2 separate regions of the Homo sapiens genome follow, and region 1 is linked to region 2. Evidence: promoter capture Hi-C in human tissues and cell types (Jung and others, 2019). All regions are on one chromosome and are shown on one strand. Each heading gives the region's core, a stretch centred on a gene start or on the middle of the fragment in contact. The rest is flanking DNA. Distances are from core to core; before and after follow the strand shown. Region 1 holds the start of NAPA (NSF attachment protein alpha). Region 2 holds the start of MYPOP (Myb related transcription factor, partner of profilin).

Region 1 (4,769 bases), core at 222-2,721, 1.6 Mb after region 2:
GTTTTATGCCACGTCATATGTGTTAGTTCTGTCTCCCAGGCCTTTTCCCATCCCTCTTCTCAGCATGTCTCTGTCATCCCTATTACTCGAGGATCACACAGCAGGAATTTGATCCCCCGTTTTGGTTCTCTCAGTCCCCCTGTCTCTCCCTGTTATCCCTCCATCTCCTTGGCCAAGCCACCACCACGCATTCCCCCACCCAGGAGTCTCCAGCCTCAACCCAGGCCTCCTCAGGCTTTTTTCTTTCTTTCTTTCTTTTTTTTTTTTTTTTTTTTTGAGACAGAGTCTCGCTCTGTCCCCCAGGCTGTAGTGCAGTGGCTCGATCTCGGCTCACTGCAACCTCTACCTCCGGGTTCAAGTGATTCTCCTGCCCCAGCCTCCCGAGTAGCTGGGATTACAGGTACCCGCCACCAGGCCCAGATAACTTTTGTATTTTTAGTAGAGACGGGGTTTCACCATGTTGTCCAGGCTGGTCTCGAACTCCCCGCCTCAGATAATCTGCCCACCTCGGCCTCCCAAAGTGCTGAGACCTCCACAGTCTTGACTCCATCATCCCGGGTTCCTCCGTTCAGCTGTCCTTAAACTAGTCACTGCTAACCAGGGCCGTACTCACCCCATGCACCCCCCACACTTCAGACGCGGCTCACCGCTCCTAGGATCATCTAGCCCTGAGCCCCTCTGCCTGGTGTCAGCCCCCTTCAGCCTTCACCCTCACCGCCCAGGGCCCACGCAAATCCACTGCTCCAGGGGTTGAAAAGGTCAGTCCCTCGGGCAGGCGTCCTCAGCCCCAGGCCCCATCACTGCCGCCTGAGAGCCTTCAAACAGACTCCCCTAGAGCTCCGAAAAGCCTCTGGACCTGGCTTCTCTCCCGGACTCCCTCCGTCCCCCCAGGCCGGTCCCCTCCAAGGCTTCAGGACGTACTCCCTCGGTCCAGGTTCTCCCCCGCCCGCTGGCCTGTCTTCGGCCTGGGTCCCCTTCCTCGCCTCAAGATAGTGTCGCCTCGGTCCGTGTGTCCTCAGCCCAAATCCCTTCCGCCATGTCAGACCGTCTCTCCTCAAACCGTGTTGCCCCGGCCCAGGCTCTTGGCCCTCAGCCTGCGTCCCCTCTGCCGCCTCAGGCCATGTCACCTTATTGCAGGTTCCTCTCCGTCCCCTCGGCCCGAGCTCTGCGTGCCCTAACCCGCCACCTCCGAGCGTGACTCCTTCGTCCTCTCAGCCTAGGTCCCGGCCGACCCCTCAGCCCGGTTCTCACCCAAAGAGGCCAGAGAAGAAGGACTGCGAGTTCTTCACTTTGCGCTCCGCCTCGGCCAACAGCGCCATCGCCTCCGCTTCCTTCCCGGAATTGTCCATGGCGGCCACAAAGGGACTCAGCAAAGCGCCTGACCCTGACCCTGGGAAGACTCAGCCGCGGCCGGGCCGCGGAACACAGATCGGTAAAACTCGCCCGGCTGCGTTGACGTCGCACCGGCGCGCGTCGCTTGCGGCCAGGAACCACGTGACTAGCGCTGGCCAACCAGCGGCCTCGTAACGCCGCGCCCGCTCCGCCGGACACGCCCCCACCAGCCGCCGCACGCCGCCCGTGACTCGTGACCCCCCAATCGGCGTCAAGAGACCTCAACGCATGCGCACATACCGGCGAACGGCGCTCCACTCTCTCCCCAGCGCTCTGTACCTCACCTCCCACGTGACCCTGTGGAAGGCAATGGCAGTACCCCCCGCCGAGGCCCCGCCCCACGGTGTTGCTGCTGGATCCTCCTCCACCAATCAGCAGGAGCCCTCGGCTCGCGCTGGGGCGGGGGGTCCCCCACTCGCCCTCCCCGCGGAACTCTGGCACAGTCAGCTGACCGCAGACACTCACGTGACAGCTCGGGGCCCACGCCCGGGTTTGACAGTTCTGCGCAGAACTTAGTCCCGCCCCCGCGGCTGGTCTCGCCGGTTTCTTCACTTGGAAAGGCGTTTGTGGGAAAAGGAAACCGTTCTGCTTTTTCTTGCTCCCTCTGTCGGCCAGTACTAGAACTGCTTTGGGGAGACCGGTGAAGAGAGACTGCAAACAAAAACTTAAGAGGTTCTCTAACTCTGGTTTCATAAAAAATAGCTGAAGAGGGCCGGGCACGGTGGCTTACGCCTGTAATCCCAGCACTTTGGGAGGCCGAGGCGGGCGGATCACTTGAGGTCATGAGTTTGAGACCAGCCCGGCCAACATGGCGAAACCCCGCTCTACTAAAATACAAATATTAACCGGGTGTGGTGGCACACTCCTGTAATCCCAGCTACTGAGGAGGCTGAGAGAGGAGAATCGCTTGAACCGGGGAGGTGGAGGTTGCAACGGGCCGAGATCGTGCCACTGCACTCCAGCCTGGGCGACAGAGTGAGACTTAGTCTCAGAAAAAAAAAAAAAATAGCTGAAGAGAGCGTGTTAAAAAAAAATTCAGATTCGAAGATGGGCGCGGTGTCTCGTGCCTATAATCCCAGCTACTCGGGAGGCGAGAGGATCGCTTGGGCCCAGGAGTTTGAGTCTAGTTCAAGTCCCGCCTTGGGCAACATAGCAAGACTCTGTCTCTAAAAAAAAAAGTTTAGGCTCAAACACACCTCCTGCTGTCCCAGAAAATTGAGTTGCTGGTTTCTGAGACAGGGTCTCACTCTTTGGGTTGTTGGTTTTGGAGACAGGGTCTCGGTCTGTCGCCCAGGCTGGAGTGCAGCAGCACAATCATAGCTCACCTCAGTATAACTTTGTAGTGCCAGAAAGGAAGGAAGTATTCCACACGTGTGCTCACACACAAAATTAGGGGGTATGCCAAAGGAGCCAACTGAAAGAACTCCCAATGGCCAAAGCTGGAACAATTTGAGCATCAAAATAAAGTAGTATTGGATTATAATCCCAAACATAAAGTATCCATGAGCCTATGGTCATATAGATGAATATAGAACAAATAAATAAAGGGGGGAGAATAGACAAATAGTTTGTGCAGAAGAATTCCAAATAATCTGCGTAGATACTCTGCTCTCAAGAAGGTGAAGGATACCTCCCCATTCTGTAAGTATGGACTGTGCATAGTGACTTCCTTTCAAAGAAGAGGGTACAAGAAAGGGGAGAAAAAGCCTAAATTTACAGTGGAGAAACCTGACATTGACATCTAGGTGATTGAGGTTAACCTCAACATTGATAAGTCATGTGATTAAAATGGCTCTTTACTTCTGGGATCTTTCAATCTAATCATGAAAAAAACACTAGACAAATTCCAGTTGAGCCACATCCTCCAAAATACTTGCCCAGTACTCCTCAACACTGTTGGTGGGTGCAGTGTGTCACATCTGTAGTCCTGGTACTTTGGGAGGCCAAGGCAGGAGGATCACTTGAGGCCAGGAGTTTGAGACCAGCCTGTCCAACATGGGGAAACCCCGTCGCTACTGAAAATACAAAAAACTTAGCCCGGTGAGGTGGTGCATGCCTGTAATCACAGCTACTTGGGAGGCTGAGGCAGGAGGATCACTTGTACCCTGGAGGTGGAGGTTGCAGTGAGCGGAGATTGCCTCACTGCACTCCAGCCTGGGGGACAAGAGGGAGACTCCGTCTCAAACAAATAACACTGTCAAGTCATCAAAACAAGGAAAGCCTGAGAAACCATCACAGCCAAGGAGACGTGACTGCTAAATGTAATGTCTTACCTTCGGTGGGATCCTGGAACAGAAGGGCATTGAGTTAAAAAACCAAGGAAATTGGCCGGGTGCGGTGGCTCATACCTGTAATCCCACCACTTTGAGAGGCTGAGGCGGGTGGATCACCTGAGGTCAGGAGTTCCAGACCAGCCTGGCTAACATGGAGAAACACTGTCTCTACTAAAAATACAAACATTAGCTGGGCCTGGTGGAGGGCGCCTATAGTCCCAGCTACTCAGGAAGCTGAAGCAGAATTGCTTGAACCCAGGAGGTGGAGGTTGTGGTGAGCCGAGATTGTGCCACTGTGCTACAGCCTGGGTGACAGAGTGAGACTCCATCTCAAAACAAACAAAAACACTAAGGAAATCTAAATAAACTATGAAGTTTAGTTAATAATATTGTGCCATACTGGTTCATACGTGGTAATAAATGTACCATTCTAATATAAGATGTTAATCATAGGGGAAACTGGGGTATGTGGGAATTTTTTTTTGCTGTCATTGCAGTTTTTCTACAAATCTAAAACTATCCTAAAAATCTTCTTTAAATAAAACAGTTTCCAAGGCCGTACCCACAATGGTTCCAATTCTGAGTCTGTGGTGGGTCACAGGAATCTGCATTTTTAAAAAACAGAACCCTATATAATTAGGATGCAGCCAGACCTGGTGGTTCATGCCTGTAATCCCAACACTCTGGGAGACCAAGGCGGGAGGACCGCTTGAGCCTAGGAGTTAAGGACCAACCTAGGCAAAAAGCAAGATCCTATCTCCACAAAATTAAAAAAATTTTAATTACTCCTTGGGAGGCTGAGGTGGGAGGATTGTTTGACCCCAGGAGTTTGAGGCTGCAGTGAGCTATGACTGTGCCACTGCACTCCAACCGGGACAACAGAGTGAGACCCTGTCTCATCTCAAAAAAAAAAAAAAGTAAAATTAGGATGCAGATAATCCCGGGACCACAGTTTGAGAAACCGCTATTATCTAGGGGGTTGGCTGAGCCGAGCAAGGCATAAGAAGCCTTCCCCCAACTCTCTTCATACATGAATAGACTTGCCTGGACCACCTACTTGTGGTTGCCACTGTGTCCTGACCACAGAGCAGGTGGGGGTGAGCC
Region 2 (4,252 bases), core at 1,070-3,569:
GCAACTTCTTTTAGTTTCCCAAACTGGCCAAGCTTTCTTGCCTCCAAGCCATTGTACATGCTGTTCCCTCTACCAAAAATACTTTCCCAGTTCTTCATTCTTACTCTTTGCATCTCAGCTCTGATGTCCCCTCCTCCAGGAAGCCCTCCTGGACCACCCCCCCCCCCACCGAAATCAGAAACCCTCTCTGGGCTCCCACAGTCCCTGGGATCCCCTACCCCAGCCCTGCTCCCTCAAGTCATCACCGTCTTCCCCACCCCCCTACTAGACTGGCTCAGTCATCCATGTGTCCCCAACCTCATCGAGCATGGGGCAGGTGCTCAGGGAACGGCTGTAGAAGAAATAATCCAGAATCAAGGCTAAGCAGGAAGTTTCTGTAGTCAGCTCTCCACACCTCTATCCAAGGCATGACCTTGGGAAAATTACCAAACATGTCTGAGTCTTTTATTTATGAAATAGTGAAATAGTATGCATCTTACCGCATTGATGATTCTATCAAGAACTAACAATGAGAGTTGAGGAGGTGCTGAACTAAGCAACTTACCCATATTAGCTCATTTAATCTTCACAGCAACGCTTTGAGGTGCAGACTATTTTTATCTCCATTTTACAGATGCAGCAACTGAAGTACAGTAACTTACTCAGATGACACAGTTCAGTGGCAAAGTTGTGATCGGAGCCCAGGCAGCCTGCCTCCAGAGTCACTACTCGACACTGCATTTAATGAAATCCTGCCTGTGCTGATGACCCCAGGTGTGGACCTGAGTCAGGCCTCCTAAATCTGGTTCCATTCCTGGCTCTTGACAGTTACTAGCTATCGGAACTGAGGCAAGTCATTTCATTTTTCTGAGCTTCAGTTTCCCTAGCTATAAAATGGGGCGAAGGACAGCATCCACCTCACAGGGCTGCAGCAAGGCTTTGATGAGACATGTAAAAGGCTTGCAACAGCGCAGGCACACAGCCTACTCTGAAGACACTCACCTGCACGTCGGTCCTCCCGGCGGTCTTCCGACAACACGTAGCGCTGAGGGCAGGCGCTTGGGGGCGGCGGCTGTGAAGAGGGGGCCGCAGGGGGCTCCTCCGCCCCAGCACCTGCCCCCGGCGCCGCCACACCTGGCCCCAGGATGGCAAAAATGGTCTCCTCTTCCGCGGAGAAAGCGTCCTCCGCGGCGGGCCCGGCGCCCTGCGTGGAGTGCGGCACGCGAGCGAGCTTCTCCTTGGTGCGGCGCTTGAAGTCGTTCCAGCGCTTCTGCACCTCCTGGCCCGTGCGCTTCCAGCTGGTGATACCGTTGATCTTGGCGGCGATGCCGTCCCACACGCGCCGCCGCTCTGCCACGCTCACCCGACGGCTCTGCGCGCCGTAGAGCTGCGGGTAGTGGGCGCGCACCTCGCGGATCAGGATCTGGTTCTCTTCGAATGAGAAGCGCGGCTTGCGCAACCGGGTGGTTTCCTCCGCTTCGCCCGCCGCCGCCGAGGCCATGGCGCCCCCCGACGCCGCCGTCCTGCCGTCTGGCGCATGGGGGGCGCCGGCGCTGCGGGCAAAGGGCGCACGGGGCTGGCTGGGGTTCGGGGTCCCCCCGCCGCCGCCTCTCCCAGACCGCCGGGCCGAGAGCTCCTTAGTCCCCGGGGGCAGGAGTGGGGGCGGGGGGCGGGCGGGGGCGACGGGCACCCGGGTAAGTCGGAAGCGCCTAAGAGTAGCTGACACCGGCTGAGCGCTTGGCTCGGACTTCGCGCGGCGCGAAGTGCCACGCTGAAGAGTTGATAGAAATTGGGGGAGGGTCTGGAGGGATGGAAGGAAAGGAGGAAAAGTGCGAGGAGAGGAGGTGTCTGCAGGAGTTAGAGAATGGGGGCACGGGAGGATAGGAAATGGAGGGAGGATGGGGGTGCCTCGGGGGGGTCTTAGATGCATGAAGATAAGGAGATGCGGAAGGGGGGATGCAGCAAGAAGGGGGGAATCTGGAGCAGAGGAGGCGCTCTAGGGGCTCTAGGGGGCAACGGGGCGTCTGTAAGACCGATATGAGAAGGGCCCTTAGAGGGATGTCCAGGAATAATGGTGAGGTGGGAGCTCCTGTATCACTGGAAGAGCTGGAACGATCAAATATTAGGGATCAGGGTCTGCGAGGATTGTGGGGGCTCTGGGGATTGCCAGAAATTAAGGGGAGCTCTGGAAATAACGGGGGTCCCGTATCACAAGGAGACAACGGAGGCTACGGGGGACGGCAGGGAGAGCGAAGGTCGCGGAGGGTGGGGACCGAGTCGGGCCACGGGTCACTCACCGGCTCCGCCGCAGCCGCCGGTGGGTCAGGGCTCGGGCTTCTGCGGCCTGTTCCCACCCCCCGCCTCCCTCCCTCCCCTCTTTCGGCCCCGCCTCCGGCCGCCCCGCATGCCAAGGCGCAGGCGCGCCCAGGGCCAGTCGGCCCCAATGCCCTTACCGCCAGGGTTTCATTCCCACCTACCCCAGCACAGCGCAGGCGCAGAACTGCGCTCCGCCGAGCCCCACCAGCAGGCCGCAACTGCGCAGCCGCAACGTTAGCGCCGCGCGGGTACCCCAGCTTCCTGGGGCCACAACGGCGCACGCGCAAAAACTCCATCGCGCGCATGCGCGTGCCTCGGGTTGTACCCGGTACCGGGTCTCGGCGCAGGCGTTGCGAGCTTGGATGGGAGAGATGCTGGGAGCGCGCCAGTACCCAACCTTTCGGACAGTCTTCCAGCCCACCCTGCCCTCTAACCAAAGGGGAGGGAGACAGCGCTGAAGGGAAGCGCTTTGTCTCCTTGACAACTGTGTGGGTGGGGTGGAGGCGTGAGGAAACCGCTTTGCCTCCTGGCTTGCCCGCCCCTGCGCTGGGCCGCTCCAGAGCTTCCCACCTCGCACCCCTAGAGGCTGGGCGTCCTGGGGATGTCCCGCCCCGGGCGGATGCAGTAACCATAGCGACCCACAAGCCTTCCAGTCACGCCTTGGGGGCCCCTCTGTGCGCACCTTTACCTCGAGGAGCGGGGAAAATAAGAGGGAAGAGCTTCCTGGCTGGTAGGAAGGGAGATCCTGACGCCGGCACGACTTTAAGCAAGTGCATGGAGACAGGAATGAAGCCAGAACGCAGGTGGGGTGAGCCGCATGGCAGGATGATGGAGCTCAGTCCGGCTGAGAAGTGTGTTCGTTAGCATCCTGCAGGAGTCCTCAAGGTCATTCGACAATTGGTGCTTCATTCATCGACTCAATAAATATACATGAGCACTTACACAGTTCCTGGTACAATGAACATAAAAGCTAAAATCCGTAGCCTGGGCCGGGCGCGGTGGAGCTCACGCCTGTAATCCCAGCACTTTGGGAAGCCAAGGCGGGCGGATTACCTGAGGTCAGGGGTTCGAGACAAGCCTGGCCAACACAGTGAAACCCCATCTCTACTGAAAATACAAAAACTAGCTGGGCATGGTGGTGCATGCCTGTAATCCCAGCTACTCGGGAGGCTGAGGCACGAGAATCGCTTAACCCCGGGAGGCAGAGGTTGCAGTGAGCTGAGATTGCACCACTGCACTCCACCTGGACGACAGAGTGAGACTCCGTCTCAAAAAAAAAAAAAAAAAAAATACATGCCTGTAGTCCCAGCTACTTGGGAGGCTGAGGCGGGAGGATCGCTTGAGCCCAGGAGTTGCAGGCTGCAGTGAGCTATGATCAGGCCACTGCTCTCCAGCTTGGGCAACAGAGTAAGACCCTGTCTCAAAAGAAGAGAGAGAGAAAAAAAAGGCCCCTCTGCCTGCTGTGTGGAGGGTGGGTGGGAGGGAGCAAGACTACTGGGTAGAGTCAAAAAAAGTCATGAGCAGGGGTAAGAAAAGGATTAGGAAAGCGAGGGGAGACTAAACTAAGACAGGGACAGTGTCAAGGGGGACACGGAGAGACATTTGAGAGAATATATGGAAAGCATGGTGAGTGTCGCGCTAGCGAGGGAAAGGAAGATGTCTAGGTGAAACCCAAGTCTCTGGCCCAGGTTCTCACTTGGGGGTGTGGGGTCAGGTAAGATGTGGTGAATGTAAGGCTGGGTGCAGTGGCTCACGCCTGTAATCCCAACACTTTGGGAGGCTGAGACAGGTGGATCATCTGAGGTCAGGAGTTCGAGACCAGCCTGGCCAACATGGTGGAACCCTGTCTCTATTAAAAATTCAAAAAAAAAAAAAATAGCTGGGTGTTGTGCCATGTGCCTGTAATCCTAGCTACTCGGGAGGCTGAGGCAGGAGAATCTCTTGAGCCTAGGAGGCA

What was found. The method cuts DNA at HindIII sites, captures the fragments that hold promoters and counts their contacts. A contact is called where the count stands out against the background at its distance.
Region 1: the fragment with the promoter of NAPA here is called in contact with the fragment with the promoter of MYPOP in region 2 in 1 of the 25 tissues and cell types used here (lymphoblastoid cells).

What each region holds. Positions count from the first base shown.
Region 1 is chr19:47,513,592-47,518,360 of GRCh38, forward strand. NAPA (NSF attachment protein alpha) reads right to left here and starts at 1,472. Exons shown (of 11, transcript NM_003827.4): 1 at 1,252-1,472. The coding sequence starts at 1,349. RefSeq lists silencers at 1,421-1,760, 4,621-4,769 and an enhancer at 1,851-2,120. The HindIII fragment of the contact is 27,973 bases long and covers 1-4,769 here.
Region 2 is chr19:45,900,294-45,904,545 of GRCh38, forward strand. It overlaps MYPOP (Myb related transcription factor, partner of profilin), which reads right to left and starts at 2,320. Exons shown (of 3, transcript NM_001012643.4): 1 at 2,277-2,320; 2 at 982-1,532. The coding sequence starts at 1,480. RefSeq lists enhancers at 2,083-2,132, 2,563-2,672 and silencers at 2,323-2,372, 2,933-3,012. The HindIII fragment of the contact is 9,891 bases long and covers 1-3,855 here.